Regions from separate parts of the Homo sapiens genome. Here all the other regions are linked to region 1. The links are contacts of gene promoters, found by promoter capture Hi-C in blood cells and fetal thymus (Javierre and others, 2016). All regions are on one chromosome and are shown on one strand. The core of a region is centred on a gene start or on the middle of the fragment in contact, and the rest is flanking DNA. Distances in the headings are between cores, read along the strand shown.

The links. The method cuts DNA at HindIII sites, captures the fragments that hold promoters and counts their contacts. A CHiCAGO score of 5 or more calls a contact.
Region 2: a contact is called between a fragment that was not itself captured here and the fragment with the promoter of EHF in region 1, in 2 of 17 cell types (total CD8 T cells and naive CD8 T cells). The highest score is 5.7, in total CD8 T cells.
Region 3: a fragment that was not itself captured here is called in contact with the fragment with the promoter of EHF in region 1 in 3 of 17 cell types (naive CD4 T cells, activated CD4 T cells and total CD8 T cells); the score reaches 5.4 in naive CD4 T cells.
Region 4: a fragment that was not itself captured here is called in contact with the fragment with the promoter of EHF in region 1 in 1 of 17 cell types (activated CD4 T cells); the score reaches 5.1 in activated CD4 T cells.

Annotation. Positions count from the first base shown.
Region 1 is chr11:34,617,966-34,622,342 of GRCh38, forward strand. It overlaps EHF (ETS homologous factor), which reads left to right and starts at 3,128. Exons shown (of 9, transcript NM_012153.6): 1 at 3,128-3,263. RefSeq lists a cis regulatory region at 1,029-1,428. The HindIII fragment of the contact is 6,441 bases long and covers 1-4,377 here.
Region 2 is chr11:35,380,821-35,385,493 of GRCh38, forward strand. All of the region lies in intron 1 of SLC1A2 (solute carrier family 1 member 2), which reads right to left. Among named protein-coding and RNA genes, the nearest start is that of SLC1A2-AS2, 36 kb to the right of the region's middle. The HindIII fragment of the contact is 2,250 bases long and covers 2,075-4,324 here.
Region 3 is chr11:35,475,557-35,480,062 of GRCh38, forward strand. The region is part of intron 3 of PAMR1 (peptidase domain containing associated with muscle regeneration 1); the gene reads right to left. Among named protein-coding and RNA genes, the nearest start is that of PAMR1, 48 kb to the right of the region's middle. The HindIII fragment of the contact is 665 bases long and covers 1,415-2,079 here.
Region 4 is chr11:35,530,453-35,535,053 of GRCh38, forward strand. No RefSeq gene overlaps it. Among named protein-coding and RNA genes, the nearest start is that of PAMR1, 7.1 kb to the left of the region's middle. The HindIII fragment of the contact is 2,216 bases long and covers 143-2,358 here.

The DNA.
Region 1 (4,377 bases), core at 1,878-4,377:
GCTTAAAGAGATTCTTTGTCCTGGCCTTGATTTGGGAATTAAGATCCCTAGGGTTTTTGGTTTTACAGTATGGATCTTCTAGGAGACAACCCGACTGACCTCCGGGTCTCCAGGCCACCACACACAACCTGGTTTGCTTTGCTCTGTTCCCCTTTTCCTCTGTGGGGACCAGCACAGGACTCAACTCAAGGGCTCTGTGTCTGTGCACAGGTTGGAGAGGGTGATAGGGCCTTGACCTGTAGGGACAACCAGGAAGATTTCTATGCAGAGTAATTGGGTTTCTAGAGTTTGTTTCAGTTGATTTGAGGGCAAGCTGCTTGGCCTCTCTCTCTTGATTCTTCCCATCCACAGAATAAAGACAATCAGCTTTGTTTATCACTCTGTTCATTTTGCTATGTCTTTATCAGCCCCCCAGAGAATTCAGGAGCACAGAACAAGTGCTGGAGGTCTCTCTTGCCAGAGTCCTCCTTGAGAACTTACAATGTGTCCATATTAAGGATCTGCTGTGTTTGATGATTTTGTGATTACACTTTAAACTTCTTATCCATAAAGGACATACTTGATATATCTGAGACTTGTAGTAGAAGGCCTTGAGACATCCATCTCATCCCATCATTATCTATCTATCATCTATCTATCTATCTATCTATCTATCTATCTATCTATCTATCTATCTATCATCTATCTATCTATCGCCAGTACTGTCTTGTTGAAGTTGGCAGTAGGGTGAAAGACCTCAAACTCCAAAGGACTTTCCGTATGGATGCAATATACCTGCAATTCTAGCTTTTTTGTGTTTTTTTTTTTAGGTTGGGGGTGAGGGGTATTGTTTTCATTTTTGTTTTTCTTCTGGAAGGTTCAACTAAGACCCAAGTAAAAAGAAGAATCAATACTTAATAAGTACCCAGCAAGTAGCAGGCACACTTTTAGGTACTTTATTTACAAAAAAACCTCCACAAATAAAGTGGCTTGTGAGTATGAGGTGACATCTTTCCCTCCCCTCCCACCATCACTACCCCAATATGACTCGTCTCAATAGCCCTCCAATCTAAAATGGACTAAATACAAGTGGATAAAGAAATGGAGATTTAACCAGAATTCTTCAGCTATAAATTACAGGGCCTATAATTAAAGGTGATTGGGACTGGGTCAGAGAGCCACATCACTTTTGTGGTTGCATTTGAAGTTCACTATCTCTTGACCACACAACCCTAGCCCTTCTACTCCCACCCTGCTGTCTCAGGTTAATCTCAGGCAATGGTGTAAAGAAGGCCAAGTTTGTTTCCCTGGAGTCCCACGGGCTCTAGCAATAATGCTTCCCTTTTCTCATGAGTGCCCCGCCACCCACCCCCCTTCACCATCACTACACACAAATGCCCTGCAGTGGGTGGAATGTAGTTACTTCAGGTTGTGCCTGATTTGTCTCTCAAGCAAAACTCCAGCAGGCCATTCCCTCAGGGCCCTGCTCTCAGATCTGGAACTGATAGACTAATTGGGGCTAATGTGATAATGGGAAATAATGAAATTTGTTGTTTTTATCAGTGTGTATATGGGGCGGGGTTTACATTTGCATTTTCACAGGGCCCTTGGCAAGTTCACAGGGTTGAACAGTTGGGAAGGGTGGGAATGTCTGGGGCAGGTTAGGGAGGCAGAGGGATTTATTAGAACTCCCCTAAACTGCACTGACCAAAGCCTCAAGCCCTTCTTCAAGACCTGCCCAGCTTCCAAGACCTTCCCAAGTCCACCCTTGTTTTCCCACTGAGTCTTTTACACTTTCAGAAACCTCTGAATTTGTGTAGAAACTAGAAAAAATAAGTAAGAAAAGACTAATACTACTGCACACTCACTGTTCCCCCTTAATATAATAACCAGTTTTTATTCTATTCAGTCAGCCTTTGACCATAAGCAGACCTTTTTTTTTCTTTTTAACACAAGTAACTTCTTGGTTTTGATCACAAAATCTTTATCTCTGCCAAATCTCAACTTCCCTTCCCTCTCCCACAAAAGGGAGGCCCGTTGAGTCAAAGAAATCTGCTTAGACACTTTGCTCATGCCAGGCCAGTGTCCTGGAAGGTTCAACAGAGAAAGTTAATGGTTGGGGGATGGTATTTTTCTTTGCTAGGAGCAGTCATTCACCCGTATGGGAGAAGGTACATTTGTGACCCAGTGAAGCAGGTACAGGTAACTCCCCATATGTCCCTTGGCCCAAGGGAATAGAGGTTGCCTGGGTATTTGAATCCGTAGATCCTCCCTAATATTCCACCTTCTTCTTGTCCAAACTGTGCTTTTTTATTTCCAGTTTCAGCATTTTGGTCTTCTCATCTCTAACTCTTATAGGGAGTGTCAATAAACCTTTTAAAAAAGATCATGTAAGTGTCAAGAGGAAGTGAAGAACCTAGATAATCCACCAACCGGATAATCAGCTCTTGCATATTTGAGAGTTGACTGCTTGACCTAAGCATCTCCTCATAAGGTACCCTCCCTCCCAGGACCTTCCCTTTCAAACCTCTCAAGGCTCTTACCTGGGGCCAGGGGAGATAGGCTTTTCAAAGTCCATTGAATTGCCAAGAGTCTCTGTCAAGAAGGCAGTCATGGTGCCTGGAGAGGGAACTTGCTGGGAGCCCCTTCAGAGCCTGGTACTTATAGAGCTAGGGAAAAGATCTTGATGCCAAAGCAGGGTGGACTAAATACAGACTAATAAATGAGACAGGTGCTCAAGAGGGCCCCTCCATACCATCATCTCCTCCAGATTTGGACTTCTACTCACTTTGCTTTTACATTCCCTCTTCCCGATGGTGTCTTTGGTGAGCAGGGTGCTTTTCACCTGAAACAGCCTCTGAGCTGAAAAGAACAGTCACCACCAAATCAATTCCTCATCCATTAACAGGTTGTCTCTCTGTTCTTGAGACACAGGCATTACCTGGTTAGACCTGTTTTGTTTGAACACTAACGTGTGAGTTGGCCAAATGCAAATGAGCCAGTGTTTGTAATCCTTTATTTTATTTTTTTAAAGGGCTGGGTAGCCAATCAGAAGAGGGGGAAGTGACTTAGGGAATTCCCGGTTGGTGGCTTATTGCTTAACATCCTACAAAATGATTTAAAATTATTGTTATATGCATTTATCTTCACTCTGATGAGGGCTCAGACTTGATAACACCCGTGGTGCCCCATCCCTATAGGAGCTGGTGAGATTGCAGCCTGCTGCCTCCCCTCCAACAGCCACAGCTATTGGATTTCCCACCCAGAATCTTTAGGTAAATGAGGTAAGTCCTGATTTTTAAAACTTCTTTTGAATCTGGAATCCAAACACTTGAGTGGAAAGAGAAGCCTGCTTTAAACTGGACAGATGAAACTAGAACAGACTCTTGGAGACGGCTGGCAGGAAGTGAAGCTCACCTTACCTGGGCTTACCTCACTGGGTCAAATCAGAATTTTATTTTGGAGGGCAGGTTGGCTACTTTGGATATTATCTGTGAATTTCCTGCATTGTCTGGACTTCTAATCTCTGTGAATTTAAAAGCCCCCTCGTTTCCCTATGCCTGGGTGGCAAAACCATTCCCCTGGGTTGAATTCTTCTGGAACAAATAGGCAGCTAGAGATAGGTGGCTCTGATATAGCTCAGAGAAGAAGTGGTTGGCTAAGTAGCTGTTAGGGCTCAGAGTACACGGTCTCGCTTTCTAGAGATGTCTTCTGCTGGTAATTTTTCTGACTTATGAGCTACATGGAAAGGCCAATTTGTTTTTAATATGTTCCAGGACTGGAAAATGGCTAGAAATAGGCAAGAACATACACAATCACACTGGAAAAAGTGGCCAGGCAGCCAAGGCAGGCAGAGGTATTGGGGAGAGCTGAATATCTACAAAAACAAAAATTCAGAAAAAACAAAAATCAATTTTGGCAAAGGGCTTCACTGTATAACAAGGGGACAAGCTAACCCTTTGTTTACAAACTAACCCTTTGTTTACTCCATTTTGTCCAGAAAATACAACAATCAGTTTTGGCAAAGGGCTTCACTGTGTAACAAGGGGACAAACTAACCCTTTGTTTACTCCATTTTGGGAGACTATGATCAGACAGGCAGTTGTGACTCAGCAGCAACAAATGCCTTCTGAGACAGGGATTCTTTTGATTTTGCTTGGACATTGTGGAGAAGTGTTAGCCCCAATGTGGACTGATCTGGGAACAGTGGGAAATTAACTTCTTGTTGGTAAATATCAGGCTGAGGTGAGAAAGCGACATTTTCACCGTCCATCTTTGCTGATTTACCATGCTCCCAGGATGGTGGGAGTGTGTGTTTTTAAGATGGAGAGTGTATGCTTCTGGGTTCAAGTTCACAGGTGTCTCTGCTGGTTATCTGCACTCACCTTGGTAACAGGG
Region 2 (4,673 bases), core at 1,950-4,449, 760 kb after region 1:
GGGAGAAGCTGAGCTGCACTGGATGACTGTTATGCTCCCAATGACACCCTGGGCTTAAAGAAACAGGATTCACAGTGACTGCTAAAGTTTCAGGCAATAGAAGACAACATCTGACAAAATTACACGTAGTGGGGATGGAGGTAGAAGAAAAGAGAAGGAAAAGAAAAGAAAACTCCTTGACAAACTAAGTTGGAGTGAAGTATTACAGAGCTCAGGTATAAGTTACTCAATTATGAGATTTTTTTAAGAGTTTGCAGTAGCCACATATATTTTCCTCCTTTCATCCCTTTGTTTCTTTTCTCTTATTTTCATCATTCGGGCAGCTTTTTGGGCAGCCACCTTTTCCATGTCATCCCATCGTGTGATTGTCATCACACGGTGATCCAGACTGGGCAATCAGAGCAATCCTTTCCTACAGTGGTCAGCCCAAGAATGGGTGTGGCTGAAGCCCAGCCAATGAGACTCTTCTCTGGGCCTCTTCCTAGAAGTATCAGAAAAGAGGCACTTTCCATTGCTGAAATCATTTTCTCTGAGGATGCTGTAAGTCTTGAGCTGCCAAACCCATCATTGCCTGAAAGGACAACAACCCAGAAGAAAACCCAACCAAAAGATGGGGAGAGTAGCAAAGTCTAGATAGCCTTTCAGCCCTCTGTCTGCTGTATCCAAAGCCTGCTGAATCCCTAGACATCCCAGTTACCTTACCCATAAAGATCACCCCTTCTTTCTCTTTGAGTTTGAGTCCCACCAAGAACAGCCCGAAAAATCTTCAATAGCTGTCAATTTTTAAAAACATCAGAGGGACACTGAAGTACAAGCCACAGCCTGTCCACTCATGCCTACCCTGCTGGTTCAGAGGACACCAGCCCCCTCAGCGAGGCCCCCAAACTGCTCTTGTTTGCCTCAGAAGACAGGCGGGAAATTCCAACCTGATCCTACTTTGTACTTCAGGAAAACAAAGGGGAGTACGTATTTCTTGTAAGTGTCATATTGCACCTTTTAATTTATTGTCTTTCCCAGAAACACACAACTATGATGATTTCATGTTCTGCAACAATGAGTACTGATCTCTTATCACATAGTCCCCTTCCACTGAGTGAAGTGACAATGAAGAAAATGATGATGAAATTGTAAAAATACAGTACCCTGCACAAAGCCAACAAACAGTAACTGTATCTGTACTTACATGATTGGTTAGATTCCCACAACAACCTTATGAAGCAGGTATGATAACATGCCCATTTTACAGATGAAGATACTGAGGCTTAGAAAAATGGAACAACTTGTGCAAGATGACACAGAAACTAAGAAATGAAATCAAACTCAGCTCCATGTTCCTACAAGGCCCGTGGTAACCACTCTGCATTGCTGTCTCTTCACTGAATCACCCACCACTTGTTGGACCTTTACTTACCATTTGTTTCATACTGTGCTTTCCCTGTGGTCCTTGTCAACCTGTCGATATTTTCACTATTACAGAGATTCTGTTAAACCTATTTTGTTTCTTCCTGATCCTCTTGTGTTTGATTGCCCATCATTCCATAGAGTGATTCTTCAAGATGGGCCACAGGGGCAACTAGACCAGTGAAATCTTTGTTTAGCTAACTTATAATGGAACATCATGAATCCATTTCATAGGAAGAAGATACATGATATTTCCAAAAGGACAAAGCATAAGTTTTAACATTCCTCCTAAGGCTGGGTGCGGTGGCTCACGCCTATAATCCCAGCACTTTGGGAGGCCGAGGTGGGTGGATCACTTGAGCTCAGGAGTTCAAGCCCAGCCTGGCCAACATGGTGAAACCCTGTCTCTACTAAAAATACAAAAATTAGCTGGGCGTGGTGGCAGGTGCCTGTAGCCCCAGCTACATGGGAGGCTGAGGCAGGAGAATCACTTGAACCCAGGAGGCAGAGGTTGCAGTGAGCTGCGATCACGCCACTGCACTCCAGCTTGGGCAACAGAGCGAGACTCAGTCTCAAAAAAAAAAAAAAGTCCTCCTAAAGGGTAGGTGAATGATCTAGATCATGCTTTAGACCTTTAAGGTATTATTGTTTCCAGCTCTCTAGGAGTGAAAAAAGCTTAAATGTTTCTTTTGAATCTGAATCTGAAAACTGATCCTGCTTTTCCTACCTGCACGCTCCAAAAGTTAAAAGCCTACACCATCTAAGAAAATTATCAGACATATAGAAAAAAATACATATGCAAAGATGTTCACAACAGTGTTATGACAGAGGAATTTTAGGCATGTCCAAGAGTAAGGGATCAGTTAAGTCAATTGTATAGTGTAGCCATGACTGGAAAACACTCAAACTGGTAGTGTATTAAAAGTTATGTCAAAAAAGAATATAGTGGGGAAACTCTGGCATAATCCTAAAAGAAAAAAGCATGCCTGAAAATACTATGTTAGTTTGACACAAATTTAAAGGACATAAACTAAAATGACAACAGTAATGGGACCTGGGTAAATTAATTTTGTTATGTTGTGTTGCCTTTTTTCTGCCTTTTTTGGTTGAAAGTATTTTTTGTTGTTGTTATTTTTATAATGGTTATTATGAAAGAAATAAGCCTAAGAAAATGCTATATGGCTTAAGGAGATAAAGATGTCATGGGATTATCAGAGAAAAGGAGAGTACAAGCAGAATGTGCCAGTGGGGAGCCCAACTCTGGAGCTGACTGCTTAGGTTTGGATTCTGGTTCTGCTCCTCACTAGCTATGTAACTAGGGCAAGTTACCCAGATTCTCTGTGTTTCAGTTTCCCTGTCTATAAAACAGGGATGGTAAGAATAGTTCCCACCTCATGGGGTTGTTCTGAAGATCACACAAGCTAACATACATGAAGCATTTAAAACAATGCCTGGCATAGAACAGGTTCTATATAAGTTGTTGCTATCATTATGGAATGAACCACCCAAGAGCAAATACCCTGTCTTTCTCATCTCTGTATTCCCAGCACCTCTCCAAGTGTCTGGCTTACAGTAGATGCTTGATCAATGTCATCTGGGTGGATTCTGGAGGGCAGTGCTGATATTTTGAGGAATGGCCACCATGATACCATCTCACTCAGTACATCTATGGTGTGACATCTCCCTCTAGATCCCTTCCATGGGGTTCTTCATGCTGAACGGATGGCAATTGTTCTACTCGCTTGTTTGGAGTACTGACAGTTAACAAGATAAAAGGGACAGAAACTGTACTGCCACAACACAGCAAAGTTTAGCAATGGCCTGCCATCGCCTCCTCTGTTCCAGCCAGGACTTTTTTGGTTGCTTGAAAGAGAAATACGTTCACCCTAGTGCAAATAAAAGAGGAGAGTATCATATTGCTAAGTATAGATATCTCATGGAATCCAAGAACAAGAAACAAAATAGTAATAGAAGCTGTCTTGTCACATGTAACTTAAACCGGTGAGTGGGTGATTCATCAACGAAGTCAGTGAGATCTGGAAATGACTTTTTTAATGATACCATAATTATATAAATATTTTAACTGAAAGTACAGATCCCATGTGGAATATGGAAGATGACTATTCTCATCCACGCAGGTTGCTCCTGGATTGTCTGAGTTCTGATTTCATCCTTTAATCCCATGAATCTTTAAAAAAGTAATGTACAAATAATGAATGTGACCCTACTCCTTCTTGAATAAGGAAGACCCACTCAGAGGCCATCTGCAAAGCATATGGCCATAATTCAAAATGACAAATACATGTTAGATTTAAGAATCCTTAATGAATCTCAAACAGTTGCAGCTTTAGGCTCAGTGGATTAGAAGATATTGATTCATCATTGAAGATTATTTGCTTGTTGAAGTTACCTATGCATTTCCACTGTGGCATATTCACCAGTATCCCAATTTCTGAATGTTCAGAAGATTCACTGGCTTTAGGGGAAAGGAGTATCATCACAGAAGTTTGGCCACTTATATGCTTGTTCTATTGGACAGTTACACAAAGACTTTGAACCATAGAATTTGGGAAATTTAGAAGGATTTTAGAAACCCAATAATCAACCCCTCTAAAGCCTAGAGAGGTGACAGTAAGTAAGATGCTAAGGCTGGGAAGCCCATGGTCTCAGAGTCTCAGTGCAAGATGGCTTCCCTACACAATTGTGTACCCAAAAAGTAACCATCTGCCTAAATATGACACCACTTGTAGAAAGGCAGTTGGTTAAATTTCCCAGATATATGTGGTTTATACAAAGATAAACTAAAGAAGTGATAAAAATGTATGCATATGCTGACAACATCATACTATATCTGGAGAATACAATTTCTAGAGGCCCCAGAGTGACCCAGTGAGACAGTGAAATAGAAATATTCAAAAATAAAAGCTTTCCCCTCACTGCATTCTAAATTGTCATTGAGAAAGGCCAGAAAATGTCCAAGCTCAAACCATCCCTGCCCTCCCCTCCTTTTTATGAATTAGGGTAACAGATGGCTTTTTCAGTACATAGAAGAGAGGTAACAGCTGTTGATAATCTATGACAAGCACATATCAGATGGTTTTTCCATTTCATCCTCATCACAACCCTGAAAGGGAAATATTATCTCCCTTTTACCAGGTGAGCAAACTGAGGCTCAGAGAAGTTAGGCAATTTCCCCAAGGTCACACAGCTAGTCTGTCTATTTCTAAAGCCTACAGGTTTTGTAGTGTTTTGCCTCCCATTCTCCCTAAACA
Region 3 (4,506 bases), core at 497-2,996, 860 kb after region 1:
AAGCACAGGTATAGAAAATGCACTGTATTTTTGTACCCAAAAGTTTGGGGAAAATGTCTTGAAGTGGCTCTATGGAAAAATTATTTGGATCATGAAATAAATGATATTCTCTACCTGGGGGTTGCACACTATGATCCTTGGGCCAAATACAGCCCACTGCCTCCTTTTGAAAATAAGGTTTTATTGGAACACAGTGACACCCATTCATTTATGTATTGCCTATGGCTGTTTTTGGACTATCATGGCAGAGTTAAGTAATTATAGCAAGAGACAGTAGGCCCCATGAAAATGAAAATACTTACTATCCGGCTATTCACATAAAAAGTTTACCTTCCCTATTTCTATACAGAAATCCAGATTGCCTTCTTAAACTTGGATGCATAGTTATATTCAATAACTCCCCAAAAGTACAAAATTTCATAACTAAAAATAAAAATATTACTAGTGGATACTGCACCATGGCAAGATGACAGTAGTAATATTTCTAGTGTTAGGAAAAGAGCCCAAACTCCACTTTTGACAAAGCTATGAGGTCTGAGGCTTCTTACTTTTGTGAAAACTACTGCTAGGTCATACAATCTATCTCTTCACTAAGATCTTTATTGCTGCTGCCCTGTGCCAATGATGGAAAGCATCATCCACCAGTTTCCACTTGGGGCTCCTGTCTAGCCCCAGCCTCCATCATCTCTCTCTGTAATCTCATCTCCTCCTTCATCTCCTAGTAATACGGTTTGGCTGTGCCCCCACCCAAATCTCATCTTTGTAGTTCCCATAATCCCCACATGTCATAGGAGGGACCTGGTGGGATGTAATTTAATCATGGGAAAGGTTACTTTCATGCTGTTCTTGTGATAGTGAGTGAGTTTTCATGAGATCTGATGGTTTTATAAGGGGTTTTCCACCTTCGCTTGGCACTTCTCTCTCCTGCTGCCATGTGAAGAAGGACGCGTTTGCTTCCCCTTCTGCCATGATTGTAAGATCCCTGAGACCTCCCCAGCCACACGGAGCTGTGAGTCAATTAAACCTCTTTCCTTTATAAATTACCCAGTCTCAGATATTTCTACATAGCAGAGTGAAAACAAATACACCCGCCATTCACCCTTGTTCCCGAACATACTGTTGTCCACCTAGCATCCAAAGCCACCTTTTAAATAAATTAATCAGATCACATTATCTTCTTGATTCAAGCCCTCCAAAGGTTCTCCACTGTGCAGACACCTTCCTATGTTATTTGCAGCTCTGCCTTGCTGGCTGCCTAAACCCACACTCCTCCCAGTCTCACATACCACTCATCTGCTTGTCCCCACTGCCCTAGACACAGCCTACTTTCTGTGCCCAACTCCGGCCCTTGTACTTGCTGTTTTCTAAACCTAGAAGGCTCATCTTCTTCTGCATCTCTTTCCTGTAAGAATTAAGCTTATATGATTGCACCACTGCACTCCAGCCTAGGTGACAGAGCAAGACTTCATCTAAAAACATAGAATAATAAAAATAATAAGTTCGACTGCCACTTCTTCAAAGAGGCCTTCCTTGCTATCCAGCTAAAACAGGCCCTCCCAATTCTATGGTCAATATTATTACTCTGCTTTGTTTCCTTCATAATACACACGCCTATTTGAAATTATCTCACTTACTTGCCTACTCCCTTTGATAGAGCTGGGATCTTTTCTAGCTTGTACACCTAGAATGGTACCTGGCATATAACAGGTGCTCACTGCATATTTGTTGAATAAAAGGATGTTGATATTATCATTTGTATTTTCTCATTTAGTCTTCATAAAAAAACACAGAGAACAACATTCATCTCCCCATTTTCTAGATGTGGAACACTAAAGATGGAGAAGTTAAGTGATTTCCCTAAACTCAGATGCCAGGAAGTTAGAAGACTGTAAATCGTTATCCTAATGGTAAAGCAGTGGTTAAGAATAGAGACTGCAGAATCTGACTGCCCTTGGTTTGAAACTCAGCTTTATTTTCCCTAGCCGTGCAGCCTTGGGCAAGTTACTTCCTTTGTCAGAACCTCAGTCAACTTGAATCAAATGTGAATAAAAGTGGCAGCTACTGTATACGGTTTTGTGAAGCTTAAATCGTGCATGGCAAACTCTTAGCAGGAAAATTAGTAAATGTTAGCTGTTTGTATCGAGTGGCAGAGCAGAGATATGACCTTGGATCTGTCTAGTATCAACGCTGAGTCTTTGCTGATATGTTAAACTGTCTTAGGGGCATTCTGACCCAGTCCTCTCCCACTCCATTTTGAAACGGCAGAATTTTTCCACCCCTAAGAGAGATACATGGAATTTTTGCCCGCTCCCTTTTTGAAATGCACGTTCCTTCTCTGCACACCTCACACTCCTCATCGCCCCCATCTACCCATCTGCTGCTGGGCTACGGAAGTGATATGCAGGGTGTGAGAGACAACAAAAGAAGCCTTCCTGCACAGCCCCCGTCCCTCAGGGACTGGCAGCTTCCCAGCCTGTAAGGTGTTAAATCCCAGCTCCCTCAGCAAACCTCCTGCTGGGGATCCCAATTTAGAACCAGCAGCAAATCCTGCCAGCCTGCTCCCAGTTTCTTCTCTCCATATGGAAGCTGGAAGCAGCCAGCTGTGCCTCAGGCCCCTCCCCAAATCCAAGGGAAGGCGGTGCTCATCCCCATTTAGGCTTCCTTGGCACATCCATTTGGGCTTTGGCCAGCTCCAGGGTCTCTTGCAGTCTCTGGAGGGCTCAGTCCCCATCCTCACCCAGATGCCCGATCCCTGGCCATGTGAAATGCTGGACCACCTGTTCCTGTAGCCTCAGGGGCTGTCCTTCAGAAGCAGCCAGGATTCTAAACACATGCAACATCTCCATTCTTCTTAATGAGGTTCCTTTCACTCTGAAGGGGAGGGCAGAGTTGGCCCCAAGATGGGGAACAACTTCCAAACAACCAGAGACAAAGGGGCCACTTCTTGGAAATGTGTTTGGAAGAAGGTATATTAGGGAAACAGCAAGAGGAGGAGGGAGCGCTCCCTCCCCACATCAAGGAATGCCTTCAATTCCCTCTCCACTCTTGCCTCTACTTGGAGAGCTGGCGAGGCTGGGTGCAGGGGCAGCCTGACTACACCTCTCTGTCTAGGGCAGAACAGTGAACACAGCTGAGTGTCCCTGCCAAGGAAGTATCGTTGGCCAACCTAGCAGGTGGTCCTGAGTCTGAAAGACCAGAGCAGGCAAAGAGCCTGGAAGATGTGCTCAGATTCCTTAACAATGTCTTACTGCAGGAGAAGAGGGGTATAGGTGTGTGGGCGTGTGTGTGTGTGTGTGTGTGTCTGTGTGTGTGTAGTGATATCTGTCAGTGAAGCTGGACTGTGCCCTGAGCTCTCAAATCCTGGCCTCATTGCCGATCTTTCCCCATGGCTACGTGCCCAAACAGGAGGGGCGGCTGGATAGTCCCTGCTTCTACAGAACTGAAAGGAAATCTTTATTAATTTCTAGACCAGTAAGACAGCTGGAAAAGGCTCTCAACAAAAATGAACACCCTTAGCCTCAGACAAAAGTCTTCTTATCTTCAGCATTTGGTGCAGGGGAGGGGATTGTGGGAGAGACACACACACTTCTAAGAAGTGGTTGGGTTTTGTTTTTCTTTACTGTTTCCTCTTAGAAAGAAAAGGAGGACTTAAAAAAATTCAGAGAGAGGCATTTGCATTTTCTTTCCTCCTTCAAAGATGACACAGTCTGTGATGCCAGCCGGGGTCCGAATCTTAGTTCGGCCACTTACTAGTTGTGTGACTCTAAAAAAGGCCACTATATTTTCTGAGCCAAGGTCTCTCATTTGGAAATGAGAATATTTGTACCTGCAACAATGTGTTTTTCTCACTTGTCTTAGGGATTAAATGAGATATTGTATGTAAAGCACTTAGCACAGCACCTGGTACATAAAAATGCTCAATAAGTGGCAACAAATATTGTTATTTTTCTCGAGTCTTGTCTGGATCTGAGGCACTGATTGTTTTGGTCCAGGAATCACAGGGGACAGCTCAGGTTCTGACCCACTGCTCCAGGGCTCATGAGAGCCTCATCTCTTCACTGGCTAGAACCCTAAACCCAACAGGTTTAGCATCCCAGACAGTGATAGCAGAGCCAAGGATTAGATGATGAAGACCCTAAGGGCTCTCACATCAAGAGATGGTTTCGTGGAGAGGATAAAAGAAGGGGCTCTGGGGCTGGCTTCTGAATTTTCATCTTGGCTCTGCCACTTACAAGTTGTATGACAGCAGAAAAGTTATTTATCCCTCTGTGCCTGAGTGTCTTCATCTGTCACATGGCTGTGACAAGGGTTGCAATGGGGATTAAATGAGTCAGTACAGGAAGGTACTCCGAATGATGCCTGGTTCATAGTAAGTACTACGTGTTGGCTTTTATCAGGGGCTCAGGTGTTCATCAGGAACAATGACAAGTCCTCAGCTCAGCCTGTGAGTTGACATATAACCCCAATCCACCTGACTCTATGATTGTTTATTGAATTGTCTGCCTC
Region 4 (4,601 bases), core at 1-2,500, 910 kb after region 1:
AATTGCTGAAAGTCGGCAAGCTTTTCTCCTTCATAGTTAATATGCTCCTGAATCACTTGGGGAAACCTGTTCTTGACATCCATATGTATATTTATAAACTTCAATTTTTAAAAATGTTGTCTGCTATGCAACTGAACTGCAAAGCTTTACAGAGAACACTGGCAAAAACGTTGACCACAGTCCAAGTGGCTAACTCAAAAACAGTTGAGTCATTTGGGTAGGGAAGAAAACAAAAAATAGAATAACTCCAAGAGAAGGTAATGGAGTACAGTGGCACACAAAAAAGTCACTGTGGTGAAAAGATCCCCATATGGATCAAGGCTCTACTATGTATGAACCTGGGCAAGTCCATCAGTCCCTCTGAGTTTCAGTGTCCTCCTCTGTCAAAAGGGGTAATAGCTACCTCTGAATTTTGGTGAGAAGACTACAATGATGCTGTTATACATAATAGGAGCTCAATCAATGTGTACCATTTTTTAATATTATAACTACTGTAACTATCTATCTATGAGCACCTCATCTTGGAGTTGTTAAAAATAGGATGGAGAGAAGTGGCTTGAACTGAGAGGCACTGAGGAGGTTAGAAGGATGAGATCTGTGATTGATGATACATGGAGGATAACAGTGAGAGAGCAGTCAAAGATGATTCCCAGTTTAATGACCATGTGGTGGTGGCTGGTGCATGGTGGTGTGCTGGAGGAGCCCCTTTGTTCTCTGTCTCTCTCAGATTACTCTGTCTGGGAGAATCTGGGAACAACCCTGTGGAGAGTCTTACATGGAGAGGAAGTGAAGCCTCTTGACAGTAGTCACCTGAATGAGCTTGAGAACATATCCCCCAGTCCTTCAAATGACTGCAGCCCCAGCCAGCAACTTGGCTGCAACCTCATGAGAGACTCCTAGCCAGAACCACCCAGCTAAGCTGCTCCCAGATTCCTGACAGTCAGAAACTGGGCAAGATAATGCATTTTATTGTTTTAAGCAACTAAATGTGTTAGTTCATTCAGGCTGCTGAATAAAATGCCATAAACTGGGTGGCTTATAAACAACAGAAATGTATTTCTCTCAGTCCTCAAGGCTGCGAATTCCAAGGTCAAAGTCCCAGGAGATTTGTTGTCTGGTGAGGTCTCACTTTCTGGTTCACAGATGATGTGGTTCACAGCTGAGTCCTCACATGGTGGAAGGGAAGAGCCCTGATCTCTTCAGTCACCACTATGGTCTGAATGTTTGTGTACCCTAAAAATGTATTGAAACCTAATCCCAAATGTGGTGGTATTAAGAGGTGGGAACTTGAGGGTGTGACTAGGTCATGAGGGCAGAGCCTTCATGAAGGAGATTGGTATTCTTATAAAAGAGGCCTGAGGGAGATTGTTTGCTCTTTCTGCAATGTTAGGACACAGCAAGAAGGCACCATCTATGAAGCAGAGAGTGAGCCCTCACCAGACACTGAGTCTGCTGACACTATGGGCTTGGACTTCCCAGCCTCCAGAATTGTGAGCAATAAATTTCTATTGTCTATAAATTGTATTTTTCTTATAGCAGCCTGATTGTACTAGGACAGCCCCATATGCATCTACCAATCCAATTCATGAGGGCTCCACCCTCATGACTTAACCATCACCCAAAGGCTCCACCTCCAAACATTGTAACAGTGGGGATTAGTGTTAAATATATAAATTGGGGGAAATCATAAACAATCAGACCATAGCACACAGAAATAAAATACAAATACAAAAGGTTTCTGGATTGGGCAACATGGGTTAAAGGAGAAACTAAAACTGTCTATATATCAGTAAACATGCAGCCAAATGAAAACTGCCAGCCCAGCCACATTTAATATAGATATTATTGAGCCTAAGGACTCAACAACGAGGAATGTTTAAATAGAGTTAGATTATCGCAGTTAGGAGGCTTCCCTGTACATAAAAACAAACCAAATTCATGTGGCTTAAATAACAAGGAATTTTATTTTCTCATATAACAATAAGCCCACAGGTAGAATGGCTCCAGAGTTGTTTAATCCTGTGGCTCAACAACAATGTAAAATACCCAGGACCAAATTACCAAAAGATATCTACAGCATGCAAGCATTTATATAAAATCTCAGAACATACAAAAAATAGCATGCATTATTTATAAATATAAGCACATATCATTAAACTACTAAAACATATAAAGAAATGACATTTCTTTCTTTAAGATAGCAGTTACTGCTGAGAAGGAAGCGCAGAGCAAAATATGGGGTATGAAATTTTTAGCAAAAATTTAAAAGAAGCACAGGCAAAATTTGAAATAATTGAAGCAAAATGTTAACATCTGTTTCATCTTTGAGATGAGTACATAGGTATCTGTTATTACCTAAGCTTTTTTTATATGCTTGGATTGTTTATAATTATATATAAATTTTATAGCGCTATAAAGATGACATAAGGGGGGAACACATAGGAAACCATTTTCAGACGGATAAAGAAAACAAGCATTTATCGATTTATTTCAGAAACCATTTTGAGTGTCTGCTATACGCCAGGCACTATTCTAGGCAGTGGGGATAACATGGTGAGCAAGATGAATGATTCCCATTTTTATGGAGTTCACTTACTGCCAGACAAAAATATGCAATAAAGAAAGAAAACCAGATGATGATAGTGTTAGAAATGAAACAGGAGAATATGCTAGAAAGTGACTATTTTGTGGAATCAGGGCAGGCCTCTATGAGAAGGTGACATTTAAACTGAAAACTGAGGTTAACAAAAAAAAAAGAAAACCATCCATGGGAGCCTCTGAGGAAAGGACACTCTAGGCAGAGGGAACAGCTAATGCAAAAGGCCTGAGCTGGGAATGGGCTTAGTGTTCTTGCAGAGCACAAAGAAGGCCAGAGCAGCTGGCATCGAAGTACATCATCAACTCTTTAAACAAGAAAGAATATGAAAAGGGCCTGGAGAAAATGGAAGGATCAAGGGAGGCTTCATATCAGTGTAACTTTATCGTTTGAGTGTTAAAGAATCCTTTGAGAATTCAATAAAAAGGTATGGATTCTAGAAAAATATACATGCATTCTGATATTTGCTTACGGTTTCAGGATATGTGGGGACCCTCTCAAGCCTATCCAAAATGACCTAACTCCCACATTTGAGCCAAGGCCACATTCTTCCCAGGCAGCCCCCAGTCAATGAGGGTACAGGGGAAAAGGCTCTGAAACTGCCATCCTCTCACTAAGATAGTGAATCAAGACAATATCACATTCAAAGGGTATAGTTGGAGATTGTTGTCACCCCTAAAGATCTTAATGACGCAGCGATGATAAACTCTGTCATATATCCCTATCTCAACTTAATTCACCAGTCTAGTCCCTGCCAAATGTAGAATAATTGTAGATTACCACATGTTCAACCAAGTAGTAGATCCAATTATGGCTGCCTTATCATGCATGGTCTCATTGCTAGAGAAGATCTATGTCAACTCAGGTGCGTGATATGCAGCCAATGAGTTCTTTTCTGTTACAATCAGAGAAGAGAATCAGAAACAATTTTGTTCATGTGCAATGGACAATAATATGCATGTATGGTACTGTCCCAAGTGTATGTTAACTCTCTTGCAGTCATCACAATGTAGTCAGAAACAATCTGGAGTATCTGGACATCTTGCAGGATAACACATTGATCCATTACATCAATAACAGAGCAGGGAGAGTAAAAGGTGGCTAGCACACTGGAGGCCTTGGTGAAACAACTCACTTCAGATGGTAGGAGATAAACTCTATGTAGCTGCATGAACATGGTGCATTGGTAAAATTGTTAGGGATCCAGTGATTAGGAGAATGCTGAGAGATCCTGTTCAAAGTAAAGGATAAAATGCTGCATCTTGCATCCTCTATTACAAAGAATGAAGTACAATGTCTGGCATTGGTTGCCTCCAGAACCCTTCTTTGGTTGGGCTCTGGAGACAATACATTTCACACCTCTCAATGCCACTTCAACCCAGGAGACCTAAAAGGTAGCTGACTGCATAGGGCCTGGAGCAACAAAGGGATCTATAGTCAGTCCCGGCTGTAATGCAAGTAGCTTGGCCACATGGAACATATGACCTGGCAAAAGATTTTGTGTTGGAGATGTCAATGGGGGCAAAAGGTGCATTATGGATCTATGCAAGCCCCAGTGGGAGAATCAACTTAAGCCCCTGATGTTCTGGACCAAGGTCATGCCATCTGCAGCAGAGAATTCTATGCTTTTTGAAGAGTGAATACTGGAATGTTCCTAGACCCCAGTGGACATAGAACACCTGACCCTGGGGTATCAAATGACCCCAAGTATGAAACTCTCCATCATGAGCTGAGTTCTATCAGACCCTCCAAGTCCTAAAGTTATACAAGCCCATGGCAATCCATCTTAAGATGGAAATGGTCCATCCAGAATCAAACCCAAGCAGGACCAGAGGGAACAATCAAGCTTCATGAGTGGAAACTCCAGACCCACATGCCATCCTCCATGGCTGTCCAGTGCCCCTCTCTCAGCTTGCACTGTGGCCATATGGTTAGGGGAATTCCCAGTACAACTATCTGAAGGAGGGAACCCCAAGCTTGGTTTACAGGTGGGACATCTTGGTTG